3 separate regions of the Homo sapiens genome follow, and all the other regions are linked to region 3. The links are contacts of gene promoters, found by promoter capture Hi-C in human tissues and cell types (Jung and others, 2019). All regions are on one chromosome and are shown on one strand. Each heading gives the region's core, a stretch centred on a gene start or on the middle of the fragment in contact. The rest is flanking DNA. Distances are from core to core; before and after follow the strand shown.

Region 1 (4,484 bases), core at 1,686-4,185, 60 kb after region 3:
ATGGGATATTTCCTATTGTTTCAGATTTGCAGTCAACGCATTAAATTTGAAAACAATTGGTGATAAGGGTCCCCGTATTCTAAAGAGAAGCACAAAATACACCCCATAGGATTTTCTAAAACAAAGCAAATGGAGACCAGTGACATAAATACTAACAGCCTAGTAAAAGTAGACTAGAAATCAATTTGAAATAAGAGTATTTGAAGGGAATTTGTAGGAGTAGAGAGGTCGTTAGCTTTTCTCTCCTCCTCTGTTTCAGGCCCAGTTAGGGGGCTCCCTATGTGAATAGCTCATTCCTGTGTGGGAGGAAATGGGCACTCTATTCCTTGGCCGAATACCTGCTGAGCTGGGGTATTGGAAGCTCATCCTGGTCAGGGCACTGAGGTGGACTGAGACTGGAGGGTTATATGGGGGAGCCTCGAGTGTGTCTGTGGGAGTTGGGGTGTACATGCCTGTAGTGACAGGTGACTATTTTCCTGTAGGTGAAGACTGAAGGCAGGAGTCTGGCTAGGGCTGCCCGGGATGGCACATCCTGGGGAGAGTCAGCAGTTTGACAAGTTGTATATGGTGGAAAAAGAATGTGTGAGCGTCATGCGTAGAGATCCACTGGACTTTAGACATCTTGACAGAAATCTGCTCCAAAGAGTGGCCTGTTAGGGTGGAGGGACCCCAGAAGTATGAGCTTGTAGGGTGAACCACTGTGAGAAGTTGCAGGAGGGTAAGTGGAGAGTGGCTCCCTCAGTAATGTTGAAGGTTCCCATAAAGGTTTCCATGAAGGAGCCAGAATTTAGATGCCTGTCATGACAGATGGGATTATCACAGCCAGCACTGGCTGAGTAAGACATTTTGTCCTTTTCCTTTGACACCTCCTTTTTTTTTTTTTTTTTTTTCTGAGACGGAGTTTCCTCTGTTGCCTAGGCTGGAGTGCAGTGGCATGATCTTGGCTCACTGCAACCTCCCCCTTCCGGGTTCAAGAACTTCTCCTGCCTCAGCCTCTTGAGTAGCTGGGACTACAGTCACCCACCACCACACCTGGCTAAATTTTGTATTTTTAGTAGAGATGGGGTTTCACCATATTGGCCAGGCTGGTCTTGAACTCCTGACCTCAGGTGATCCACCCGCCTCAGTCTCTCAAAGTGCTGGGATTACAGGCATGAGCCACCGTACTCAGCTGACACCTCCTTTTTCAGGACTTGACCCTGTTGGAGTCATCAACAACGGTAGGAGGAAAGAAAGGAAGAGTGTAAGAGAAGACATTCTCTCTACCCCGCTAGGATTAGGATTAATCCTAGAAACTAGGATTAGGCCTGTGCTGGCAAGAGAGGAGAAGTTTTCAATTGGATGTGAAGTTGAAGTTTTCATTTTACTGGCTGGATTTCTTAATAGCTGCAAGTGATCAGAAAAGAAGCTTTGGGATTTGCCTGATATAGCAGCATATGAATGGGGTTGGGGGGCATGTAAACAATCACCCCACAGCCATTTTCTGTTGGTTACTGGGTTCAGCTCTCTCAACAAGCCCCTTGCACACACATACACAGACACATACACAATATATATATGTAATAATTCACAATAGTACATAGACACCTACACACATAATGTATATGGAATAATTCACAGAGGTTTTTCAAAGACATCATACTATAAAATTTTTATAATTTGCTTTTCTCACTAATCAATATAGAGTTTATGATAATAAGTATAGACCTGCCTTATGCATTTTAATAAGTATATAATATACTATTTAATATATTCACGAATATTTAATTAACCATTCTTTTACTTAGGGACATTTAGGTAATTTCCAATTTTATACTGCTAGAAATAATGCTTCAGTATATGTCTTTTACCCAAGTGCCAATATTTTTGTAGGAGGAAACTCCTAGAAGTGAAATGATATGAATGTTTTAAAGTTTGATAAATATTGTAAAGTAGCTTTCCATAAGATTTGTACCAGTTTGTCTTCCCACCAAGAGTATATGAGATCCTATATTTTCACAGCCTTGCCAAAAATATATATAAATATTTGTCAATCTAAAATATTAGAAAACTCTTATTTTGTTTCTCAGATTTTTTTAATACAATGAGGTTGAACATTTTTCAATGGGTTTATTGGCTATTTCTAGTACCTTTTATGTAAATTGTCTCTTCACCTGTCCCACTTTGTGTATATGTGTGTGTGTGTTTGTGTGTGTGTGTGTGTGCATTTGTCTGCTGTTTATGTCTTTCCCAGTTTGTTGTTTATATGTTTACCTTTTAACACTGCTTATGGTATCTTTTGCCCTATACAAGTTTTATATAATGTAGACAAATCTGTCATTTGTTTTTACTTTGTGTGCTAACCTACGAAAGGCTTTTCTACTTCAACATTATGATTGTTTGAATCTTTAGATCTTTAATTCATCTGACATTCATTTTATATGATGGCAAATGCTTCCTTTTATATAATATTTAAAAAGTACTATAATAAATATATAATATAACCAACATCTCTTGATACCTTTCTCTGTTATATAGATCTATTTCTCTATTCTTGTCTCACTGTCATGTGGTTTTATTACTAAAACTTTATAATATAAAGACAAATTCTCCTGAATTAAACAAAAATTTCCTTGGCTATTCTCTTGCATTTACTCTTCCAGATAAAGTTTAAGATTTATCCAGTCAAACTCCAACATAGTGGAATTTCACTTCTGGCCATGGCAAGCTAATTTGTTTAGACAAACTTACCTGCTAAGAACTACTAAAAAGGGTGGACAACATATATATAATATAAAATAGTATGTTTGGTAGTTATTCAATAGTTCTTGAAGGTATTGGAGAACTGCCAAGACAGTAAGAAATATAGATGTATATGTGTATGTAGCTCTAGATTGATACCTTTTTGAAGGGGTATGTGTGTTTGTGTGTGTGTGTGTGTGTGTGTGTGTGTGTTTAATCTTGAAGGCATTGAAGAGATACCAATGCAGCCAGTACTTGAGCAAGCAGAAACCCAGAGAAAAGTAGGTTCATATAGTTGAGCCCAACTGGTGTCATTTGGTGCCTGAAAAACTAATTAGAGTTTTCTTTTTTATTCATATAGGAGAGACATTGCTAAAAATTGAGATCAGGGCCCACCAAGGGGGACTAAGGAGGGATTAAGGTGAGTAAGTGATCTACTTTTATTGTGACTGTTGTCTCAAGCAAAAGTAAATTCTTCCTGAGAAAGATAATATCTTTTATAGCTCTGATTATCTGTGTAATTTTTTACACACAATATTTAGAGTTCAATTTTTAAAACCTGGCAGGCAAAAAAGGTAAGAATTAATCAAAAAGCACATAAAAAAGCAGATCACAGAAATAGCCTCACAAGTAATCTATATGTTAGAGTTTATCAGGAATAAACTTTAAACTGAGTATAATTAATACATTCAAGAAATTGGATGACAAAATGGAGAATTTAAGCAGAGAACTGGAGACTATGAAAAAGAATAAAAAAAACTGTAGAACTAAACAATATAGTAACTGAAATTAAGAACTAAATAGTTTAACACCAAATTAACCACAGCTAAAGAGACAATTAGTGAACTGGAAGATAGGTCAGAAAAAAATACCAAGAATAATACAGCAAGAGAATAGCATTAAAAATAGAAGGACAGGGGAACATGATGAAAAGGTCATATATACAGCTGAAGTCCAAAAAAAAGAAATAAAAAATAAAATAGAACAGAAGAATGTCTAAAGAGATATTGGATGAGATTTTCCAAAAATGACCCCAAAAATCAAATCACATTTTCAAGAAGTGCTATAAACTCCAATAATGAGTAACAAAGAAGAATATCTCTGTACAGAACACACTAAAACTAATAATTACCAAAGATAAAGAGAAAAATCTTAAAACCAGTGAAATGAAGTAAGAAAAAAAAGATCACCTTCAAAGGCACAAGAAAGACTGATGGCCAACTTCTTAACAGAAATAATGGAAGCCAGAAGATAATGAAATAATGACACTAAAATCTTGAAACATATAGCATTCCTTTCTTGAACACCTTTGGTCAGTTTGTGAAATAATCAGTTCTATTAGAGGATGTGTATGATTGGTAGAAATTTTCCTCTTATATTGTGCTAAAATGTATCTGCTTATAATTTTCACTGGGTCTAGTTTTACTCATGTTAATTTCAGAGAATTTAGAATTTCAGGACTTTTGGAGCTAAATTTTCCTCCACTTGTTTGTGTAGGATAATTTTCAATAACTTCTGAAGTTTGAGAAACAATTTTCAAACTCACCTTAGATCCCCTACCATCCACCCATTCTACAAACAATGAGCATCTATTATGTAGCTGTCGTTTTTTTAAAATGACATCAATGCAATGATAACTATGACTTGCTTACTCTCCATGAGGAGCTCTTCATAAAGAGGGTGGAAAAGACAATAGACAGTTATTGCAATGCGCTGTGATAACTTCAATTATAGGTGTAAACATAAGATTCTATTCGAGTATA
Region 2 (4,829 bases), core at 2,330-4,829, 41 kb before region 3:
CGCAGCAGGAATCTGTTATTTGTCCAACAAGTCCTTTCTGCAAAAGCTTAACACTAACGTCCTGATGGCCAAAGGCTCATTCCTAACCCATTCATGTCCTATTCCATGGGACCTGCACTTCCAGGCAGAGCCTATTTCCCTACCTCTTGCATCTGGGCTGGTCTCTGACTTGCACTGGCCAACAGAATGTGGCAGAAATGATAGTGTTAGTTCTGAGGCTGGGCCTAAAGAGGCTTTGCATGTTTCTGCCCCTTTTCTGTAGCACTTCTGTCATTACCATAAACATGCCCAGTCTAGCCTGCTGGAAAATGAAAGAAGAGGCCAGCCTAGGTCAGCTTAAATCACCTGAACTCTAGATATGTGAGTCCGGCCAAGATCAGCAGAGCCACCTGAGCAACCCATAGCAATTACAGATGAGTGAACAATAAGCCTTTATTTGTGTACGGTGAGTTTCTGTGATTGTCTGGTAAACATTCTCATTGCAATGGAGACTGACCTATAAGCTGAGTTATTGCATAGGGGGAGAGTGTTTACACCCACAATAACATTATAGCAGGATTTAAATTTGTACAGGACAGTCGTTTTACGCTGTGAAGTGAGTCAGACCTGGGTCTGAATGCTGATTCTGTCACCTGTATGTTATAAACTTGGGCCTTTGTAAATAAATGACCCCCAAAAAATGCCCCTCTAAATCCTAATAAGGTCTGTATTGGGGAAAGGGACTATCGTTGACTTTTTCCCCCTTCTTTTCTTAACCTACCTGAGTTTCAATTCCCTTATGTGTAAAAGGAGATTACTATGCCTGATTCTATGTGAAAAATGAACTAGATAATACATACAAAGTGCTTAGCACAATCTGTAGTACCCGGAAAGTGTGCAATAAATGGTCTCTATATAAACACATATACAAAATACAGATAATAGTTCAGAGATACTTGAAAGTAAATCAAATAAACAGACTATTCCCCTTGTCTAAGCCAGCACTGTCTGTCCTCTGAACTACTGCAACTTTTAACCATTATCCCTTTTCTATCTCCCACGTCTCCACAGCGGTACACTGTGATAATTCTAAACATGCAGACCCGTGTGGGTCACATCTCCATATCAAACCCTCCCAAGGCTTCCCATTGCCACATATGATCAGATCCACGGCTCTACCTCACTCACACACTTGGCCACACTGGCCTTCCTTCTGCTCCTTGCGTCCCCTGAATGTGATCCCACCCAGGCCTTTGTATTTAGTTTCCTCTCTACCTAAAGCATTCTTCCTCTGCTCTCTGCCTACCTAGTCCTCCTACGTTATGTAGACATTAGCATAAATGCCAATTCCTCGAACCCTCTGACTTTCCTCTACCCCTGCTCAATACCCATCAAACAACTCTGTTTGATGTTTTTTTTTTTTTTTTACAATATTTATCTCCATCCCAAACGATCTTTTTTATTTGTTTGATATTGCTGATCTCTTCCCTCCACTCCCATGTAAGCCCCACAGAACAGTGACCTGGCCTTACCTGCTGCTGCCCCAGATTCTAGATGGAACCTGCATGGAGGGGACAGCACGAGCTACTGAGCAGCTGGACATAACACCCCCCAGATCCTAACAGGGACTTTTGGGAGGAACAGGGGCAAATTTTAATTCTTATTTTCAATATTTTGCAAATTGTCTATAATGAGGATCTTCACTTTCAAAATCAGAAATTAAAAATGTTATTTTTTTCACTTTGTGCATGTATGTTCCAGGAGTCTGTGTTAAATGCTACTGAGAGAAGGCTGGGCATGGTGGCTCATGCTTGTAATGCCAGCACTTTGGGAGGCCAAGGCAGGCAGATCACTTGAGGCCAGGAGTTCGAGACCACCCTGGGTAACACGGTGAATCCCTGTCTCTATTAAAAAATAATAATAATAATAATAAATAATTAGCTGGGCATGGTGGCGCACGCTTGTAATTCCAGCTACTTGGGAGGCTGAGGCAGGAGAATCACCTGAACCTGTGAGGTGGAGGCTACAGTGAGCCAAGATTGCGCCACTGCACTCCAGCCTGGGTGACAGAACCAGACTCCGTCTCAAAAAAAAAAAAAAAAAAAAAAAAGGCCGCTGAGAGGAGACCATTCAACCCCCTTGAAAGGAAGAAGAAACCAAAGAGAGGGAGGAAATGGGATGAGGAAAAAAAAAAAGAGGAGGTAAAAGCATGTTGCTCTGCTGCTGGCTGTTTTACCAAATCAAGGAATACATTATAGCTGATAAACCAACCTAGCTGAGATCTACAGGGTTCCCATCCAAAAGGCCACAGCAGCAGATGCCCTTCAATGCATCTATGCCCTGAGGTCAGAAGTGTATTGGGCAGCAGGGAGGAAAGGAAGAGAAAGAAAGAGGAATTAAGAAACCAAGAAGAAATACAAGAATGAATCAAAGAAGAAATAAAGAAAGAATAAAGAAAGGTATTATGGAAGGAAAGAAAGGCATCAAAAGGGAGGGGGAGAAAGAAAGAAGAAGAAAAAAGAGATAGAAAGTCTTAGCCAAAGATGAAATTGGAAGGTGTCCTGGATCCCAGTAGCTGGGAACCTGTCATAGCTCTGACATATTTTAAATGTCCTGCACATTACACGGTTGATGTACTAATTTTAAGGCAAAAACAAATCATGCATACACATACACATGCATACACACACACACACACACACACACACACACACACACACTTCCTTTTTGCCTCATTCAGATGGCAAGTGCTCAGTAAGTTTTCAGTCCATGATTACAGAACAAATATACTGAAAGGCCCATTGTAAAGATCCCTTTGATCTCAGTGGCTCTTATCCAGCAATTCTCTCCACACAGTAACAGGCTGTCAACAGAAATATGGGTAAAGCATGATGCTAAGCCAGTTCAATCCATTACGTGTAAACATTAGGAAAAGAGTCTGTTGCCATTTACTGAGAAGGTGAATGCAATGACGTCCTGTAGGCTGGTAGACGGGCTTCCCTGGCCTACTGAATAATCAATATCAGCAATTTTTTTTTTAAACAGGATCTTGCTCTGTCTCCAGGCTGCAGTGTAGTGGCGTGATCATAGTTCACTGAAACCTTGAACTCCTGGGCTCAAACAATGCTCCCACCTTGGCCTCCCAAAATGCTGGGATTACAAACATGAGCCACCTCTCTGGTAATATCAGTAATACTGATAGTAAGGTTCTTCAGAGATTACTTCATTTAATTGTCACAATAGCTATATGAAGGCAGAATAGTTCATATACCCATTTTCCATATGTGGAAATAAAGGAATAGAAAACAGAAAGCTTAAGACAAGCTCAGATATGCTAAATAATTTGCCCACGCAGATGGAAAAACAGAGACTCATCTCCCCATCCTTCTCACTCTAAAGCCCATGTTCTTTTTCATGCGAATGCCCCAGGAATGCAGCCAGGAAGCCTAATTGTGCCCCAAGGAGAGCCAGGCACCCAGCCTTCCAGAATGAGAGTCCTGCATCAGGACCTGGGCTGGAGCCTTGTGCACAACACTCCACAGAACCATCAGCCTCTGCGAGGCGGGCACTGTATCCCACATTTTAAAGAGGAAAAAGTGGAGAGGGAGAGGGGGTGAAACCACCTGCTTAAAGTCATACAGCTAGAAAGCCAGGGGGAGGCTGGGTGGAGTGCAGACTCCAGTGGGCTCAACCATAGCCCACGCTCTTTCTGCTCCACTTCACTTCCTCCTCATGGGGGCAGAAGAGAAAGGAAGGGGAGACTCTGCAGTTCCCCTCCACTCTAGCCCAATAGGTTCCTGGACAAGAGTTGGCAAACCCCAGAGAGGTAGGTATGGCTTCCTCTCATGGACAAGAGCCCAAGGAAGCTCCAGGCAGCCAGGCATCCTGCTTCCTTTCCCTCCCTTCTTTTACCTCCCTCTCTCTCGTCCACTTCCTCCATCCTCCTGAATGGCGAGCTGTGCCAAGGGCAAGATTGCATTTGACAAAGCAACTGTTGACCCACAGGCCAGGGCTCCTGTCAATGCTACATCTCATGCACTAGTATTTTTAAGGAGCTTCTGGATAGGCCAGAGACCACGGCTCACTAGGAGAAGGGTAAGGATTCCCGGCAGACAGGGTGTCTGATGTATTCCGTCACATGAAGAAGAAGTTGGCTTCAAAGGTCACTTCTTGGGGGAGGTCTGTATTATATCTATGCCCTTAAACTATTAGTATGCAAATTAACGTTTGGTTTGGGCAGACAGACATTTTGAACCCTGTTTCAATGCTCCCACTCTGGCCTGAGCCCCTTTCCTTGGGCCTGTCCTGCACGAGGTAGCTCAGTTCATCAGAAGGTGTAGACAAACAGGATTCATCATGACTCTGACACTACGTAGTTGTGTGTGGCCTGGGGCCAGTTACTCTGCCTCATGGTCTGATTCCCTTATCTGTCAAGTGGGAGAAATGACGCCCACCTCAGGGCGCTGAATGGGATGGACAGTATGTGGGAAGGCCCCTTGGTAGGTGGAGAGTCCACACTTCCCTCCTGTCACACTCCCCAGCTCCCATTTCCCTCTAGCTACAGCCCAAGCAAAGCCTGTTAGATGTCACCCAGTGTGACCCTGTGCCCAGAACAGCACATCGCCCTGGGATCATGCATCAGTACTCAAAGTGGCCCAGACTAGACTCCTCAGCTTCTAACTTGGCAGGAGCTTGGGCTGGATTAACAAGGCCTCTCATTCCAGTGGTGTTTACCATCATGCTTCCTTGCCTATGGTGTCAGCAAAATCTGCCCCCTTGAACCCACTGAAAGGTGAGACCAGCGGAACTCATAACCACAGCCGGTTAGAAGTCAGTTAAGTTGGGGTACA
Region 3 (4,709 bases), core at 837-3,336:
TGGGGCACACTGATTTTTACAAAAGGAGTTTAAAAAAATACAAAGTGTTTTCTTCCTTCTCTTCTCCAAACATTTGAGTATGATCCAATTTACAAAGAGTATGCATTTACAAAACCTTTCAAAAGCAGAGCTATTGGAAAAGGTGAGTTATTCTATACATTTATGTTGGAAGTATGCAGCTATTTGCTACCTGGAAGTACTGCTCGCCCATTAGGTCTTTAACAAGCATTCCGGATCTTGCCAATTCTAGTATTCAGTCGTGGGTGGAATCTGGGATTAAGGAATTTGCTTCTGAGTTTCATCTTCAGAGAAACACAGCCTCCACTGCCATCCATTCTAACCCTCTACCATCTCATCTGAAAATCTGACTTAAAACACCCACAGATGCAAAAGCCTGCAGGCAGCCCCTTCCTCCCAAATGCTCTTCCTTAAAGGATAGTTAGGGAGGGGTCCCTGGCTATCATCTGCAGATTGCAAACTCTTGCAATGCAACAGGTTGTCCTCTCCTAGAAAAGAAGGTGCAAGTACTCCCAAGCTATTTGTAGCCAAATAACCTTTCAGAACTTTACACTGTGAGCCGCACGGTTCGCATTTGCTACTGTGATACCGAAGGCATGAAATCGCATCAACCCAAATCCGTGGCATCACTTAGCCGGGTTTGGGGCCTCATCACACGTACCCCTCCTCTACTGCTAAGGCCAAGGTTGTCTTGGGAAGGTTTGGGACTTACCAAGAAAGGGCTCAAGCCAGAGGAGGCTCCTGCGCGGTTACACGTGAGCCTGCTCCGCTCTCCCCTCCCACCAGAAAAAGTGCACCGGGAAAGTGTCAACGCTGGAGGCGTGCACGGCTTCCCGCCGAGAGACCACTCCCCCCACCGGCCCCAGCCCCCACCCCGCTTTCTCAGCTACCCTTCACCAGAAGAAAACGAGTCTTCTCTCACACCTCGTGAGTTCCAAATACTAACCAGTAACAGAAGCTGTAACACAACCCCAAAACCCAGGCTACGCAGTGAAACCCCCTCCCTCAAGCCGACCCCCGCCCCCTGCCCCGCACAGAACCAGGCCCCAGGGTTTCTCCTCCCCAGCCCGGGAGGCTCTGCCCTCCGCAGGCGGGCTCGCTCTGCGTGCGGGTGTGCCTCGTTCTAGGGAACGATCCTGACCTGTCAAGTTACACCTCCCACCCGCGCCGCAGGAGCGGGACCCAGGGAGGCCGGGTGCCCGAAGCTCTTTTAAATGTAGCTCAGGAGGGGTCCCTCCCCTTTCATGGAGGAGGAGGAAGGGGAGGAAGGGTGCTGGGTGAGCTCCTCAATTTCATCAGCGCGGGGCCGGGGCGCCGCGGGACAGGGCGGGAGCGGGGTTGGGGGATGCTCCAGCGGGCGTGCCCGGCCGCGGAGGGGGACCCCCGGAGCGTCGTCCCTTCCCGGAGCGGGGCCGCGGCAGCGCTCACCGTCTTCGTGGTGAAGGGGGAGCTTCAGCGGGTTCTCCAGCAGGGACCTGAGCACGCCGTAGGGAGGCGGGATAAAGGTGGGATTCAGGGGGAGCGGTCGGGACATTTTCTCCATCGCGATGCACTCAAATTTTTTCCCCTTAAAAAAAGAAATAAGAAAGAAACAACCGCCCCCTAAAATGTTGCTGAGCTTTTCCTCCGTCCTTTGCCAAAAGTACTCGCTCTCAAGGCGGTGGAGAAAAGGGAAGAAAAAAATTACTTATATCTTTATAAATACATCTGCATAAAAATATATATTAAAAAAAAACTTTCGGGTTTCCAGTGCAGACGGTCCCAGGAGAGCGCGCCAAGTGCCCGCGGGCTCCCCGGCGACGTGCAGGATGCTCTCACCTGCCTCGAACCCCTCGTTTTGCAAAATGTTCAAAATTGAAAAAAAGAAAGAAAAAAAAATGTCGACGGCTGCAGAAGGGCAGAAGACACCGCGCCGACCCCAGCCCCTAGTGCCAGCACCGGAGGCGGTGCGCCGTCCCACCCCACCCCCCTCCCCGCGCCGGCGGCCGCTGCTCCCCAGCGCTCCGCGGCCCCGCAGCGCCGGGCTCAGCGCATCCGGCCGCCCATGTGCCGCGGCCCTGACAAGAGTGACGTCAGGGCCCGCACCTCGCGCCCATAGGCGTGCGGGGGCGGGGCCACGCGCGGCACCGCCCGCCTGGCCCGCTCGCCCCGCCGCCGCGTGTTTAGCGTCGCCGCTCGCGCCGATTTTCGGGGACCTTGCAGCACTGGCTGGTTGCAGGGGAGCAGGTGCCAGATTCCCTGGGCCATCAACTTAGGCTTAGATTTTTTTTTTTTTTTTTGGTCTGGGTGGGAAGAGGAATGAGAAATTTATATCCATAGTTTTCAAGCTGGGAATAACCTGAGGAGTTTTAAAAAAATCGCGATACCCAGGCCGCATCCCAGATCAATTAGATCAGAACCTCTGCGGTGCTATCAGGGCGTCCATAATTTTTAAAGCTCCCCAGGTGGTTCCAAAGAGTAGCCAAGTTTGAGATGATTGGTTTAGATCGGATGGAAGGTAACGACCCTTCTCAATATTTCTCCTGGCCCCGGCCAAGCTTAGCGTCTTCTTTCTTGCCCAGTTTCCACCACCACCAAAAAATAACTACTTCCTATAAGTCCGAATGGGATGCAAAAAGCAGAGCGGGAAGCGGAGGACTGAGCTGCTGGGCACTGTTTCCCACGCTGCAGAGAGGTGTTAACGGTGGGGGGAGAGGGGGGGTAGACATTTGCCTGAAACGGAAAGAGGCGGGAGAGACACAGACACACTGAACGGGATTTTAGGAATATTTACTCTGGGTGAATACAGGTGATTGCGCTTGGGTCAAGTTATTAGGTTTGCACGGTGATTAAAATAATTTTGTAAAGTATCCCCTAAGGGGGCTTCGGCTTTCCTTGCTGTTACAGCAGCTGCAGCGTCTCCCTCTGCCAGTTTGACCTCGTGGCACCCACGGTCCCCGAGATCTGCGTGCGACCCCCTGTGTGATAACTCCCTTCCCGCCTGGGGTGGTGCGGGCGCTGGCGTGCAGCCGCGACGCCCCCTGCAGAGCTCCGCGGGGGGCCAGGCAGGTTCTTCCCCTCCCTCCTTACCTCTCCTTACTAAGACCCTAGTCTTCGATCTGGGGAAGGGGCTGCAAGAACGAATGGGCACAAATGAAAGAAAACCGTTTTTCAGTGGGACGTAAAGGCCTTTGTGACCCCAGGCTGAGTCGCTGGGGAAGGATGTGGTGGTGTCTTGATGGGGTTTACTTCCCCAGGAGAGGGTTGTAAGAGAGGAGGCGCCTGAAACCCCAGAGATCAGGAGCGGCGGCGCAGCGGGGTTCAGAGTTCCCTGGCAGGGTGATTCCGGCAAGTGCCTTTCTGCCCTGAGCTGTAGGTTCTTCATAAAAGGACACGTAATCTAGTGACCTCTACTTCCTCACTCTAAAATTATGGCAAAAGGGTAAGGCAACATTCTAAGTGAGATGTTGTTGCAGTGTTTCAGGTTTCAGACGAATTCCAGAAACAGCAAACTTTTAGTTAATGCCACATGCATTTATTGAGCACCACGGTATGTATGCCAGCGACTATGCGGGGGCTAGTGAAAAAAGATGAATAAAACATAATTTTAACCTTCAAGAACTCATCGTTTAGGGTTTGGCATATAAGCAAATAATATAAAATAGGCTTAAAAGAACAAAAATGGATAGATGGAGGTGACAGGGGCACTTACATTATTAGGAAAGGGATTCTAGAGAAGGTGCCTGAGCTGGGCGTGGAGGTAATAGTCTCTCGTGAACGGTCTGAATCCATCAATTATATTATATTGTTTTTTTAAAAAATAAAAAAGGGACCTCATCTCCGCTATCCTTTTGGAGACAGAGGCTATTTCCCTGTCTTGAGTTCCTTACATCCCTGTAAGTCCATAAACTGGCAGGACTGAGAGCATCCTCTCAGCCTGGTTAGAAATCTGTTAGATTGCAGATTCCAGGTGCATGAAAGATGCGTTACCTAAGCTTTGTGTAACAGTCCACTGACATTACTCAGCACGCCCAAAGTGCTCCACCTGCTCATGATTCTCCGCATGTCCTCACTTCCCCATGTTTCCAGACATGAAACTCTTACCAGGTCAAGTAATCTGGTTTCCCAGGGTAATCTTCTCCTTACCACCTGACAGAACCAAATACTGTGGCTTGGAAATTGCATTTCTCATTGCAAGTGGATAAACTGGCGTTCTGGTTGATCAAGCAGTTTCTTGGGAATTTGGTTCATTTAATTTAATTTCCCTGAGCCTGATCAACATGTCACGGACCAGATTGAGGACCAGCCCCTTAGACCATGGTGACTCCCTCTCACTTCTCTCCATCCTTCTCTAACTTCAAAGGTATTTCTTAGAGCCTCAAAAATTATAAGCATTGGCTAATCTTCAATCTAGCCCCATTCCTTAACAAGATAAATGAAATTGGTACATCTTTTCTACTCTGGCCATTTGTAAATGTTATTTTCTTTTATTTTTTTAACAAACCATGAACATCTTTCTTTCTCTTTCTCTCTCTCTCTTCCCCAGAAGCAGTTGTGGATGGCTGCTCAAGAGGAAGGAGAGGGATAGAAGAAACCAAAGGTTATATTGGTTGGGTAGTAAGACCCTCTGAATTCCACAGGTTAATTCTCAAATGGACATATCCCTAATGAGCACTAACCCCAATCTGCACATATGCCCAGAGATAACTGCC

Evidence for each region. The method cuts DNA at HindIII sites, captures the fragments that hold promoters and counts their contacts. A contact is called where the count stands out against the background at its distance.
Region 1: a contact is called between a fragment that was not itself captured here and the fragment with the promoter of HLF in region 3, in 1 of the 25 tissues and cell types used here (thymus).
Region 2: a fragment that was not itself captured here is called in contact with the fragment with the promoter of HLF in region 3 in 2 of the 25 tissues and cell types used here (dorsolateral prefrontal cortex and liver).

The regions. Positions count from the first base shown.
Region 1 is chr17:55,203,264-55,207,747 of GRCh38, reverse strand. It overlaps a transcript of STXBP4 not described here. Among named protein-coding and RNA genes, the nearest start is that of HLF, 59 kb to the left of the region's middle. The HindIII fragment of the contact is 5,408 bases long and covers 232-4,484 here.
Region 2 is chr17:55,304,408-55,309,236 of GRCh38, reverse strand. The region is part of intron 2 of HLF (HLF transcription factor, PAR bZIP family member); the gene reads right to left. Among named protein-coding and RNA genes, the nearest start is that of HLF, 42 kb to the right of the region's middle. The HindIII fragment of the contact is 3,820 bases long and covers 1,670-4,829 here.
Region 3 is chr17:55,262,337-55,267,045 of GRCh38, reverse strand. HLF (HLF transcription factor, PAR bZIP family member) reads right to left here and starts at 2,086. Exons shown (of 4, transcript NM_002126.5): 1 at 1,447-2,086. The coding sequence starts at 1,561. RefSeq lists a silencer at 1,963-2,282. The HindIII fragment of the contact is 14,198 bases long and covers 1-3,274 here.